Regions from separate parts of the Homo sapiens genome. Here regions 1 and 2 are each linked to region 3. The links are contacts of gene promoters, found by promoter capture Hi-C in human tissues and cell types (Jung and others, 2019). All regions are on one chromosome and are shown on one strand. Each heading gives the region's core, a stretch centred on a gene start or on the middle of the fragment in contact. The rest is flanking DNA. Distances are from core to core; before and after follow the strand shown. Region 1 has its middle 31 kb from the start of LINC00963. Region 2 has its middle 58 kb from the start of LINC00963. Region 3 holds the start of DOLPP1 (dolichyldiphosphatase 1).

Evidence for each region. The method cuts DNA at HindIII sites, captures the fragments that hold promoters and counts their contacts. A contact is called where the count stands out against the background at its distance.
Region 1: a contact is called between a fragment that was not itself captured here and the fragment with the promoter of DOLPP1 in region 3, in 1 of the 25 tissues and cell types used here (hippocampus).
Region 2: a fragment that was not itself captured here is called in contact with the fragment with the promoter of DOLPP1 in region 3 in 4 of the 25 tissues and cell types used here (IMR-90 fibroblasts, dorsolateral prefrontal cortex, lymphoblastoid cells and 1 more).

Annotation. Positions count from the first base shown.
Region 1 is chr9:129,456,119-129,460,108 of GRCh38, forward strand. No RefSeq gene overlaps it. Among named protein-coding and RNA genes, the nearest start is that of LINC00963, 31 kb to the right of the region's middle. RefSeq lists enhancers at 2,568-2,617, 2,994-3,515, 3,516-3,990. The HindIII fragment of the contact is 4,259 bases long and covers 1-3,706 here.
Region 2 is chr9:129,544,359-129,548,048 of GRCh38, forward strand. No RefSeq gene overlaps it. Among named protein-coding and RNA genes, the nearest start is that of LINC00963, 58 kb to the left of the region's middle. The HindIII fragment of the contact is 4,849 bases long and covers 1-3,690 here.
Region 3 is chr9:129,079,428-129,083,267 of GRCh38, forward strand. It overlaps DOLPP1 (dolichyldiphosphatase 1), which reads left to right and starts at 1,684. Exons shown (of 8, transcript NM_020438.5): 1 at 1,684-1,780. The coding sequence starts at 1,705. RefSeq lists a silencer at 1,382-2,111. The HindIII fragment of the contact is 10,069 bases long and covers 1-3,840 here.

The sequences.
Region 1 (3,990 bases), core at 327-2,826, 380 kb after region 3:
GAGCGATTATTCTTATTCTGTTGTCAAGGGCCACACAGCAGGTTGGAAGCAGATGTGGAGGCTGCCCAGTTCCAGACCAGCTTGTCCTGCTAGTGCCTGGTCCCAGGACTGGCTCAGGTGCCCATGGCATGCTCCCCTGTGCCCTGATAATCGATGTCCTTTTGCAGGGTGGTGAGGCTCTGAGAGTGAGCTAGTGGCTTGTTCTTTTTCCACATTTTTGAGGCCTCTATCTTGGGGCTGAAATACCCAGGTGGAGAAGTGAGTGACTCCGGAAAGGAAGGAAAGAAAAGAACCCAGAGTCTAATTCCCACCCAAGTGGAGGTGAGGCGGGAAGAAGGGGGGCTTGACCCTCTTACGTGGGAGTTGCAGCCTTGGTGGGACCTGTCAGAACTGGTGTGCTAAGCCAGGGGTGGGAGTCAGTGACTTCCACAGGGACAGTATCAGCAGTCAGCTCACAGAAGCATATGTTTCAGAACCAAAAGGTGTAGGAGCAAGGCTCAGAATAAAAATAAAATGAATGGATGGTGGGCAGTGGTAGGTGGATGGATGGAAACATGCGTGGATTGAGAATGGGTGAATGGGTGATGGTTGGCTGGATGGATGGATGATGGATGGGTGGGTGAATGGAGGGTGGATGGCTGTATGAGTGGGTGGTGAGTGGATGAGTGTGTGGAAGGGTGAGTGCATAGATAGGTGGATGGATGGGTAGATGGATGGATGGATGAGTAGATGGGTGGATGGATGGATGGACGGATGGATGGATGAGTGGAGGGATATGGGTGGGTGGTGAGTAGATGAATGTGTGGATGGGTGGGTACATAGACAGATGGTTGAATGGATGGATGGTGGATGAATGATGGATGGGTGGGTGGTGTGAGTGGATGCATGTCTGGATGGATGGGTGCATAGATAGGTGAATGGATGGGTGGATATGTGGATGGATGAGTGGATGGATGGATGGATGGATAGATGGGTGAGTGGAGGGTGGATGACTATATGGGTGGGTGGTGAGTGGATGAATGTGTGGATGGGTAGGTATATGAATGGATGGATGGATGGATGAGTAGATGGGTGGATGGATGGATGGATGGGTGAGTGGATGGATGGGTGGATGAATGGATGAGTAGATGGATGGATGGATGAGTGGGAGGGTATATGGATGGACGGATGGATGGATGGATGGATGAGTGGAGGGTGGATGACTATATGGGTGGGTGGTGAGTGGATGAATGTATGGATGAGTGGGTATATGGATGGGTGGATGGATGGATGAGTAGATGGGTGCGTGGATGGATGGATGAGTGGACGGAGGGGTGGATGAATGGATGAGTAGATGGGTGGATGGTTGGATGGATAGATGGATGGATGGATGGATGATGGATGAGTGGATGGATGTGTAGATGGGAAGATGGATTGGTGAGTGAGGTCTTGGATAGTTGGGTGGTGAGTGGATAAGTGAACGGACGGGTGGATAGAAGGGTGGGTGGATGGATGGATCAGCAGATGGATCAGCAGATGAGTGGGTGGAGGGGCAGATACATGGATGGGAGGATGGGCGGATAAATAAGTAGGCAGGTGGAGGTAGCACTGGCATACAGCAAAGAGCACACTGTTTGAGACTCAGAATTCTATTCATAGCAAAATCCGACATGGAAAACATCCACACTCCTGAATCTGGAAAAATCTGGCTGATACAAGTCGGGTTGAGACCATCTCTAAGGTCAAGGAAAAGTGGATTCTGATCCTAGTTCTCATGCTTGGTTCTGTGAGATCTGAGGCAAGTCACCACATCTCCCTAAGCCTCATTTTTTTCTATCTGAAAACGGATATAATAGCAGCATTCACCTTCCAGGATAGCCAGGACATCCTATGATAAAACGCATGTGGGTCTGGCGTGGTGGCTCATGCCTATAATCCCAATACTTTGGGAGGCCATAGCAGGAGGATCACTTGAACCCAAGAGTTTGAGACCAGCCTGGGCAACATAGGAAGACCCTATCTCTACAAAAAATTAAAAACAAAACAAAACAAAACAAAAGTCCCAGCTACTCGGGAGGCTGAGGTGGGAGGGTTGTGTAAACCTGCGAGGTTGAGGCTGCAGTGAGCCGTGATCATGCCACTGCACTCCAGCCTGGGTGACAGAGCCCGACCCTGTTTCAAAACAAAACAAAACAAAAACCACATGTGAGGCCCAGAGCAGGGCTTTGCGGGTGCTCAGGGAGGCAGAGTGGCTCTTGCTATCACCTCGATCCCTTGATCCAAACCACTCCTGCTTGTACAAACAAGTGTCACTTGTCCAAAAGCCTGGGTGCACAAAGGTTTCCCACAAAGGGAAGCTTCCAGAGAGTCAAGAACCCTGGGGAACAGGCAGGCTCACAGCCACGGCTGCTGCCTCCAGTGCGGTCGTTCTGTGGCCTGAGAGCGTCACGTGCTCCTCATCCTGGACCATCAGGGGCTGGCGCACCCATCAACAGCTGGGTGACCCTGGACCAGTGGCTTCACGCCCCTGGTCTTGGTGTCCTCACCTGTGAAACACGGGCCTGAGAGTTACCGAGGAGCTATGCAGTTTGTCTCCATATCACCATCTGGCTTGCCCCTAAGCCCCCTTTCGCCCCCTACCCCCACAGGGGCGAGGTCAGCACCCTCTGCAGCTGGAGCTTTGAATGTGGAAGCCTGGGGGAGGTTCTGGGGCTGACATGGGTGCTGAGCTGGGATGAAAGCACAGAACGCCTGGGGGGAGCCCCTCTCCCTCTCCCAGACTTTGCTCCCAACCCGTCCTGAGCTCCCCTGCTGGAGCCTCGAGGCAGGCCGAACTTTGCAGCCCTGTCTGCCCACGGTCCCTCCTGCTGTGACTCCCTGCAGCCTGCATTTCATAGTCAGTAGTGGGGGTGGGGGATCCTTGCTGTGGGCTGGAGAAGTCATGGGGCCCTCCTCACAGTGGAGCCTTAAGAGATTGCCCCTATAGCCCCTGCCCCCGGGGGACCCCGGATGCTTCGCTGATCCAAGGGGCACCCACAGAGTCCATGGAAGATTAGGCAGCCCCAGTGACGAGGTTGTTGGATCTGTGCCACTCAGACCTGAGCTCGGGAGAGGTGCCCGTGCAGAGGGGGTAGGATGGAGGTGCCCCAGGGGCAGCAACAACAGAAGGTCCCAGCTCCCTCCAGCCCTGGGCTACTTCCTCTCCTTCCCCAACGGCTGCAGACTCTGGTTAAAATGGCACCTCCGCCATCTGTCGTCCCTCCCCCACCCCGTGGGCACGGCTGTGACGGGGGGCTGGCTGGCCTCGTAAACAGGCGGCTGGCGGGTCCCCAGGGCCGGCGGGTGATAGGGCTTGTGCTGGCACCGAGGCCCAGCCAAGAGCTGGAGCCGGAGAGGCCCCAGGGCGGCCGAGCTGGGGGGGGTAGGCAGGATACCAGGTAGCAGGAAGGTTTCCGCGCCTGAGGGGGCCTGGGTGGTGCCCCAGCTACCTGGCCGCTCCGGGACCTGTGGGGCCCCTTCTCCTAAGTATGCCCACCCCATCCCCAGCATCTCCAGTCCCGGCCCTCTCACATTCGCCTCACCGCGCTTCTGCTGCGCTTAGAGAATCTTAAATCAACACTGGGGTGTGAGAAGCTCCATGGAGCCCCCTAACTCCCCCGCCACTGCAGCGTACACCATGCCGTGGGGATCCTTGCTTTACAACCAGGGAAACTGAGGCCAGAGATCAGGGAGGTGGGAAGGCTGGGCGTGGACCAGAACTTTCCTCCACCTGGTTGCCAGCTAGTGGCGGTTGTGGGGTGAGGGGCTGTCCCAGGGGCCAAGCTCGGGGCCCTGACACTGTAAACAAGCCTCCCAGCCTCAGTTTTTCCATCTGGGGAATGGTGGAATCAAGGCGGCTGCGGAGGCGGGAGGGCTGTCCTGTGAGCCAGAGAGCACTGGGGACCTGCCGTTCTCTCACAGTCCCCTCACCTCTCCACGAGGGAGGACTCGGGGGAGCATCCCGGGAGGGGC
Region 2 (3,690 bases), core at 454-2,953, 460 kb after region 3:
GGCTCATGCCTGTAATCCCAGCACTTTGGGAGGCCAAGGTGGGCAGATCACAAGGTCAGGAGTTCAAGACCAGCCTGACCAACAGGATGAAACACTGTCTCTACTAAAAATACAAAAATTAGCCAGGCGTGGTGGTGCGCACCTGTAATCCCAGCTACTCAGGAGGCTGAGGCAGGAGAATCGCTTGAACCCGGGAGGCAGAGATTGCAGTGAGCTGAGATGGTACCACTGCACTCCAGCCTGGGCAACAGAGCAAGACTCCATCTCAAAAAAAAAACAAAAAAACCAAAAAAAAATGAGCCAGGTGTGGTGGCACGCACCTGTAATCCCAGCTACTCGGGAGGCTGAGGCAGGAGAATTGCTTGAACCTGGGAGGCAGAGGTTGCAGTGAGCCGAGATCATGCCACTGCACTCCAGCCTGAGCAACAGAGACACCGTCTCAAAAATAAATAAATAAAACTTAAAAAAATAAAAAATCACCCCTCCTACTCTCCACCTCCCCAGAGAAACCCCATATGCGGTGGACAGAAATGAGACCGAGATGTTTCTCAGAGGCAGAAGGAAGACAGGAACAGCTAGGGGTCTGGAAGTATTTGAGTCTCATGATCTCATCCTTACTCAGGGCTGCTCCATTCCTGTCCTTATCCCTGTTTTGTTTCACGTGGACTCCTAAGTTCTCCTTTTCCTTAGGCACATTCGGCTTGGTGTCTGTCATCGTATGTAACCTGAATACAAGCAGGGTACTAAATGTCCCAGTCATTTTCAAAAAATGATGGAGTGGCACAGTGTCTCACATGGTCCCAGGGTTCCCCTTTACACAAATACCTTCAAAATTCCACATTGGTGGCCACTGCTAAAAACAAGCTTTCCTTCTCTGTCTGCTTCTGAAACACCTCCCTAGCAGCTGATCCTACGTGCTTCCTTCCTTTGTGCCACATCAGCCCAGTCTTGGGTGGGGGGCTTCTGGTCCCACCTGCTGTTCTGCTCTTGGAGGGCCAGAGAATCCTAGATCTCCATGCCAGCCACGCAGCCCCCATCCTCCCCAGTCCCCTGGGGAAATCTTGGTGAGGAATTTCAGGTAACTCAAGTTTGCCTCCCTGTTGTACTGGAACCCATTCTCTACTTCTCAGAGCTCTTAAGCGGATTCAGTGCAAGGTGTTCAGCCCCGGTCTGACACAGGGCTGGGCCTTAAGAGTTCAGTATATGACGTATCTCCTTCATCCTCCACCCCAATGCCAACACAGAGCCTGGCCAAGCAGCACTTCCTCTAGAGGGAAATTTCCTCTAGTAGAAGGCAGAGAACGGGAGGAGCTCTAGACCACTGGGTAAGAGACTTCGGGGGCTACCGAATGACAGAGTTAAAAGGGACTTCAGGGCTGGGCATGGTGGCTCACGCCTGTAATCCCAGCACTTTGGGAGGCTGAGGCGGGTGGCTCACTTGAGGTCAGGAGTTCAAGACCAGCCTGACCAATATGGTGAAACCCCGTCTCTACTAAAAATACAAAATTTAGCTGGGTGTGGTGGTGTGTGCCCGTAGTTCCAGCTATTCGGGAGACTGAGGCAGGAGAATCGCTTGAACCTGGGAGGCAGAGGTTGCAGTGAGCCGAGATTGTGCCACTGCACTCCAGCCTGGGTGAGAGAGCGAGACTCCATCTCAAAAAAAAAAAAAAGGAAAGGGAAGGACTTCAGGCGTGAGCAACCAGGTTATTGCTCAACCTTGAATTTTTCTTCTGGAAGACTCTGGCATACACAGTCCCTTGTAGTAAGCTCCCAGCATGGAAGAAGGCACCAAGACAGAGACTGGGTAAGAACTGAGGGTCCATTGAAAGTCCTTAGAATCAATGCCCTTGAGCGGACAGACTCCCCAGCAGCCCTGCAGGCATTGTCAGAGGATAACCCGATGTTCTAACCCCTCCTGTCAGGCCACCATCATTCAAGCACAACTACACATGTGGAGGCCCAGCCGGGAAACCAGTAGCTGGTCAAACGCGTTGCAATAAATATATTTTCAGCCAATGATAACTATTTAATTGGGTCCTAATTAATGAATGTTCACAGAGCATTTGTGATGCTTCAGAGAACGGTCCCCTGAAAGACACAAGTGCTATGAGTCTATTAGCAGTGGCATTTTAAGGCACTCAAAATTGTAGGTGTGCTAGATCCCAGAAGATTACATTCACTGAAAGTGAACATTAAAATTAGTGCCCTTGTGTGACCCCACCTTTCTCCACTCCTTCTTTCCTCCTTCCTGCTTCCAGAAACATCACGGGTCTGACAGAGCCATGTGGTGGGAATAAGGCTCTTGTAGACTCACAACATTTGACTCTCAGGCTGAGAACTAGACCTTCTCACCTGGGACTCCACGGGGGCAGGTGTGGGTCTCCTTCATTCATGGCTGCACCCCAGCCCCTAGTGTAGGGCTGGCCTGGCACCAATAAGGGGCCTCATCTCTCAGAAGGATGAATACATGAAATGTTAGCCTCAACTTATCAGAGCGCTGGGCTCCCAGCCTCTCCATAGCAGGATCACAGACTGCTGGGCTCCTAGCACCCTAGACTGAAGGATGTGGAGGGCAGCACCCCTATTCTGCAGATGCAAAACCAAGAAACTTCAGGGCTTCCGCCTCACACTTCTGGTTGTTGGAGCAGGAGAGGAATGGAGAGAAGGAAGGAAAGGGGGCGAAGGAAAAGTCTTCTCTCCTGGTTATCAAGGGACACCCCATGAGCTGGGACAGCAACAGAAGCTCCCTCTCCCCAGAGGGCCCCAGGACCCCTCCACTTTCCCTGCTCTGCCCTCATTCTCCCCTCCACAGGGCCAGGAAAGGCAAGGTAGCTCTGGGAGCTGAGAAGATCCTGAAGGAAGAGTGTGGGCTGTGACCTGCCCCCATGGGCTGCACTCTCCCTCTCCCACGCTGGGGAATTCCACCAGGGCTCAGGGAGTTCTTTCATCCGCCCCTGGGTGAATCTTGGACTCTTTTTTTGAGATAGAGTTTCATTCTTGCTGCCATTACAATGGCACAATCTTGGCTCACTGCAACCTCTACCTCCCGGGTTCAAGCGATTCTCCTGCCTCAGCCTCCCAAGCAGCTGAGACTACAGGTGCACACCACTGCGCCTGGTTAATATTTTTGTGTGTATTTTTAGTAGAGATGGGGTTTCATCACGTTGGCCAGGCTGGTCTCGAACTCCTCGAACTCCTAACCTCAGGTGATCCGCCTGCCTCGGCCTCCCAAAGTGCTGGGATTACAGGTGTGAGCTACCGCGCCCGGCCAAAACTTGGACTCTTTTATTGAGCTGTTCTCCCTAATCCACCTTCCATTTCCACTCAATGGGACTCACTAGTTAGCGGGCTATGGATCCACTGGGGAGGGTTGTGTGGCCCAAGATGATGGAGAAAGAGCTCCAGTCGGTCCCGGGAGGCCTGGCCTTTTTTGGACCAGTTTCCCTGACTGGAAAATAAGCTTTGATTAGAAGAGCTCTGAGCCCCCTTGCAGCTCCAATCTGCTCAGATTTTATTTTTTTATGGACTCCATTCTTGAGCAGTGCAGCCTTGGGCAAGTCACCAAAGCGAAATCCTGGTAGCTCATCTGTAAAATGGGCACATTACTGGAGGAAGCCTGGCAGCAGGGGGGTGGGGGAGCTTCTCACCACTGCCCACTCCTTGCTGCACGTCTCTTGGGTCCACCTTGGA
Region 3 (3,840 bases), core at 434-2,933:
GACTGGGAGGGATAGGGAGCCGATTACAGTCCAGTGAGGTCAGGGCTGAGAAAGGACAGGAAATGCAACCGTGAGAGCCCAGTACTGGCCCCTCACTTGACTGTGGAAACCTGTAAGCCGAGGAGACACCTGAACCAGATTGGGCCGGGCAAAGTAGGGCAGGAGAGGCAGTACATCCCACGCAGCAAAACAGCACATGGTGGCCAGGGGCGGTGGCTCACACCTGTAATCCCAGCACTTTGGGAGGCCGAGGTGGGCGGATCACGAGGTCAGGAGATCAAGACCATCCTGACCAACACGGTGAAACCCCGTCTCTACGAAAAGTACGAAAATTAGCCGGGCGTGCCACTGCACTCCAGCCTGGGCAACAGAGCGAGACTCCGTCTCAAAAAAAAAAAAAAAAAATTAGCTGGGCATGGCGGCTCACGCTTGTAATCTCAGCATTTTGGGAGCCGAGGCAGGTGGATCACCTGAGGCCAGGAGTTCGAGACCAGCCTGCCCAACATGGTAAGACCCGGTCTCTACTAAAAATGCAAAAATTAGCCGGATGCGGTGGTGCGCGCCTGTAGTCACAGCTACTCGGGAGGCTGAGACAGGAGAATCACTTGGACCCAGGAGGCTGAGCAAGATCGTTCCACTGCACTCCAGCCTGGGCCTCAGAGCAAGACCCTGTCTCAAAAAACAAACAAACAGACAAAAACAGCACATGCTAGCGGCAGGAGACAAGAGGCTGAGCCCTCCCAGCCCACCTTACCTGCACTGTAATCCAATCCAGCCAGAGACAGAGTCGGGTAGGAGAGGTGAAGGCGGGTGGGAAGGTGTGGCTGTTCACGCAGGAATGTCTTGGGAAAACTGAGGGGTAGGTGGAAAACCGACTTCTTGTTTGAAATGCTCCCAAGACGCCTCATTAAGTAGCATAGACGTGACTGAATCAATAAATCTTTATTAAATGAATGAAAGGAGGAAGGAGTCCTTAACTGTAGCTAAGCTTCCACTCTTAAGTATCAATTAAGCTTCTCTGTTCAGTCCAGCGTTTAGGGCGCCTACTGCGCGCCCCGCCCCACACACTTTTGACAAAAAGGTCGCCTGCTCTGTGTGACTTGCCCTTTCGCCGGCCAGTATGGGGCAGAGGGAAATAAGCCCCCTCTGCTCTCTGGTCTCAGTTTACTCGTAACTGAAAGTGGGTCGGTTCAAACCCCCTGGAGCTGAGGTTGCCTCTCCTCTTCGAGCACGCGCTATCGGACGCGCAGGTCCCCAAGACCGCGGATCGGCAGGGGGTACCAGGGAAGCCTTCATTCAGGGCGCAGGTCCCAGCCGAACCAAAGCTCCCACCAAAGTTCAACACGCCCCCAAAGCCAGCGCCTGATTGGCCCGCCCTGCCCACAAGCTGAGGCAGCCTCACCTTCTGATTGGCTGTTATGCTCCCTGTTCGGTGCTGGAACCCTCCCCTTCTCTGATTGGCCAGATGCCTACCTGCGCTCGCCCCAGATTGGGCGCCAGCTGGGGCGGCTCGTTGGCTCCCAGGGGCCCCGCTCTCTGATTCGCCGCTCGGGCCAGCCCCCACGGCCTGCACGCTGAATGGCTGCGCCGCTACCTATATTGGCCTCCGATTGGGTGCACGGCGCCTCCCCGGCGTGATAGGTCAGGACCACCGCCCCCCTGGCTCCCCATTGGCTGCTCGAAGAAGCCCGGTCTCCGGGTAAGATGGCAGCGGACGGACAGTGCTCGCTCCCCGCTTCATGGCGGCCGGTGACCCTCACCCACGTCGAATATCCTGCAGGTAAAAGGCGGTCCCGGCTCCAAGGACGCCTTCCCAGGGACGGCCTCTCAGTCCCGGGCGCTCCGGCCTGCTCGAGCCCGCGGAGGGGGCGCCGGGGGACCGGGGTGGGAACTGTCAAATAGTGAACCACGGAGGGGCTCGGCCGGCGCGCGCGCCGCGCAGGCGCAGTGGTGCGAGGATGAGCTGGGCGAAATTGTGAGGCGCTCGCTCGCGCACTCTGCGGCTGCGCGGCCAGGGCGCTCCCCCGGGTCCCGGGGCGCCGGTGGGCTGAAATGGGTTGAGGATCTGTGTGAGGCGAGAAAAGATCCCTGGCCTGGACCTTGGCCCTTCTTCCCCGCCCTCCCCTGTCCCAGAGAGGCCGCACTCCTGTTCCAGCGTGCAGGGAGTGTCTTGTTTCCTTCGAACAGTGCTTTGGGCTGCTTGTAAGAGAAAGAGCTCCCCGTTGCTGGGAGTGTGCAAGCCGAAGCCAGGCTTTTGAGTACTTGTGGTGCCACGCCCTGAGCAGGGCACGATTCCACAACAGAGAGGACCCGATGAGGGGGCGGGCAGCCTCCGGGAACTTGACTTCTGTTGCTTCCCATCAGACACACCTCTCGAAGTGCAGGGCTTTCCAGTTGAGAGGTCCATTAGCGGCGTTCTGGAGGCTGTCTAGTAAGAGTGGCGCAGAGCCTGGGCGTGGGGGTCAGACCCATCTGGGCTCCAGTTGAGGCTGAGGCCTTGTGCAGGTGCCTGCCTCTGCTTAAGTTAATTCATCTCTAAAGTGGGACTGATTACAGTGCTTACCTTCTGGTGATGGTATGAGCATCAAATAGCAGGAGGCACAAGAAGGGCTGAGTACAGTGCCCGGCATGCAGTAAGCGTTCAGTAAATACCTGCAGTTAATGTTATCCCACCTTGCAAGACCCTCCCTGGGTAAGATGGTTGAGTGCCAGGGAAGGCTGGAGCCCCTCATTGAGCCCTGGTTGCCTGGGAAGGGCCTGCTCATGCTGCTGTCTTGCGAGATGTGAGAACCTGGGTCCGCTGAGGGCACCAGGACTGAATGCCAAAGAACGTTGACGCTGGTGTTCTGGGTTGTACTGGGGGTGGTATGGCCCTGCCAGGTCCTGGGCCCTGCCTGCCTGCCTGTCTACCATTCATTCATCCATTCATTCATTCAGTCAATATCCACTGAACACTTCTGAGTGCTAGGCCCTGGGCTAGCTCTGGTTTTTAGAATGCTTAACAGGCCTGAAATATCCCTGCATTCCTGCACTATGAAAACCAGCTGCTTTATAAGAGGAAAGCCAAAGCCTGGAGGTGGGGAAAGACTTGCTAAGGCCTCTGCACCTTCACAGCTTCCCCTCCTGGCCTCAGAGTAGCTTCTTGGAGTGCTCACAATCCAACAAGCCAGAAGGAACCTGGCAGGCAGTTGTGTGCAGCATGATACAGGCTGTGATGGACCTGGCTGAGCCTGGAGCATCTGGTGAGGTCTAGTCCCCTATTAATGCTTCCATGGTTCCCTGCACTTCTCCGTCACACCCCTCTTCACACCGTCACTTGCTTACTTCATTCATTCAACAGTTTTTGAGCCCAGTTAAGAGCCAGGCCCTGTGCTGGGCTTGGGGGATAGAGTGGGATATAAAGAGACCCTGTCTCTACTCCCAGATGCTGTCCTGATATCTACATTAGTGGATCATGAACTGAGTCTGGATGGCAGATTCTCCCGTCAGACCTCAAGCTCTGCACTAGCAGGGACATATGTGTCTTTTTTTTTGCCACTGTGGTGGGTTCTTAGTTGTTTGTTGAGTTCACCCAGAGAGCGTCCCAGGTGGGGGGAAACTGTGTGCAAAGGTCCAGAAGTAGGACAGGGCACGATGCGCTCAGGGAACTCGAGTTTGGTCCTTGGAACTGGAGCAGAGGTTGAGAGGGAAGCAGGGCCAGGACTGTGCAGGGCCAGATGAGCTGGGCTGAGGGGGAACTTGTCCTAAGGGCAGTGGGAGGCCTGAGGGGGCTTGGATCAGAGAGTAGAGAGGCCAGAGTCCCTGGTAGCATCTTCAGGAAAACCCCAGGGTAGTGCTGGC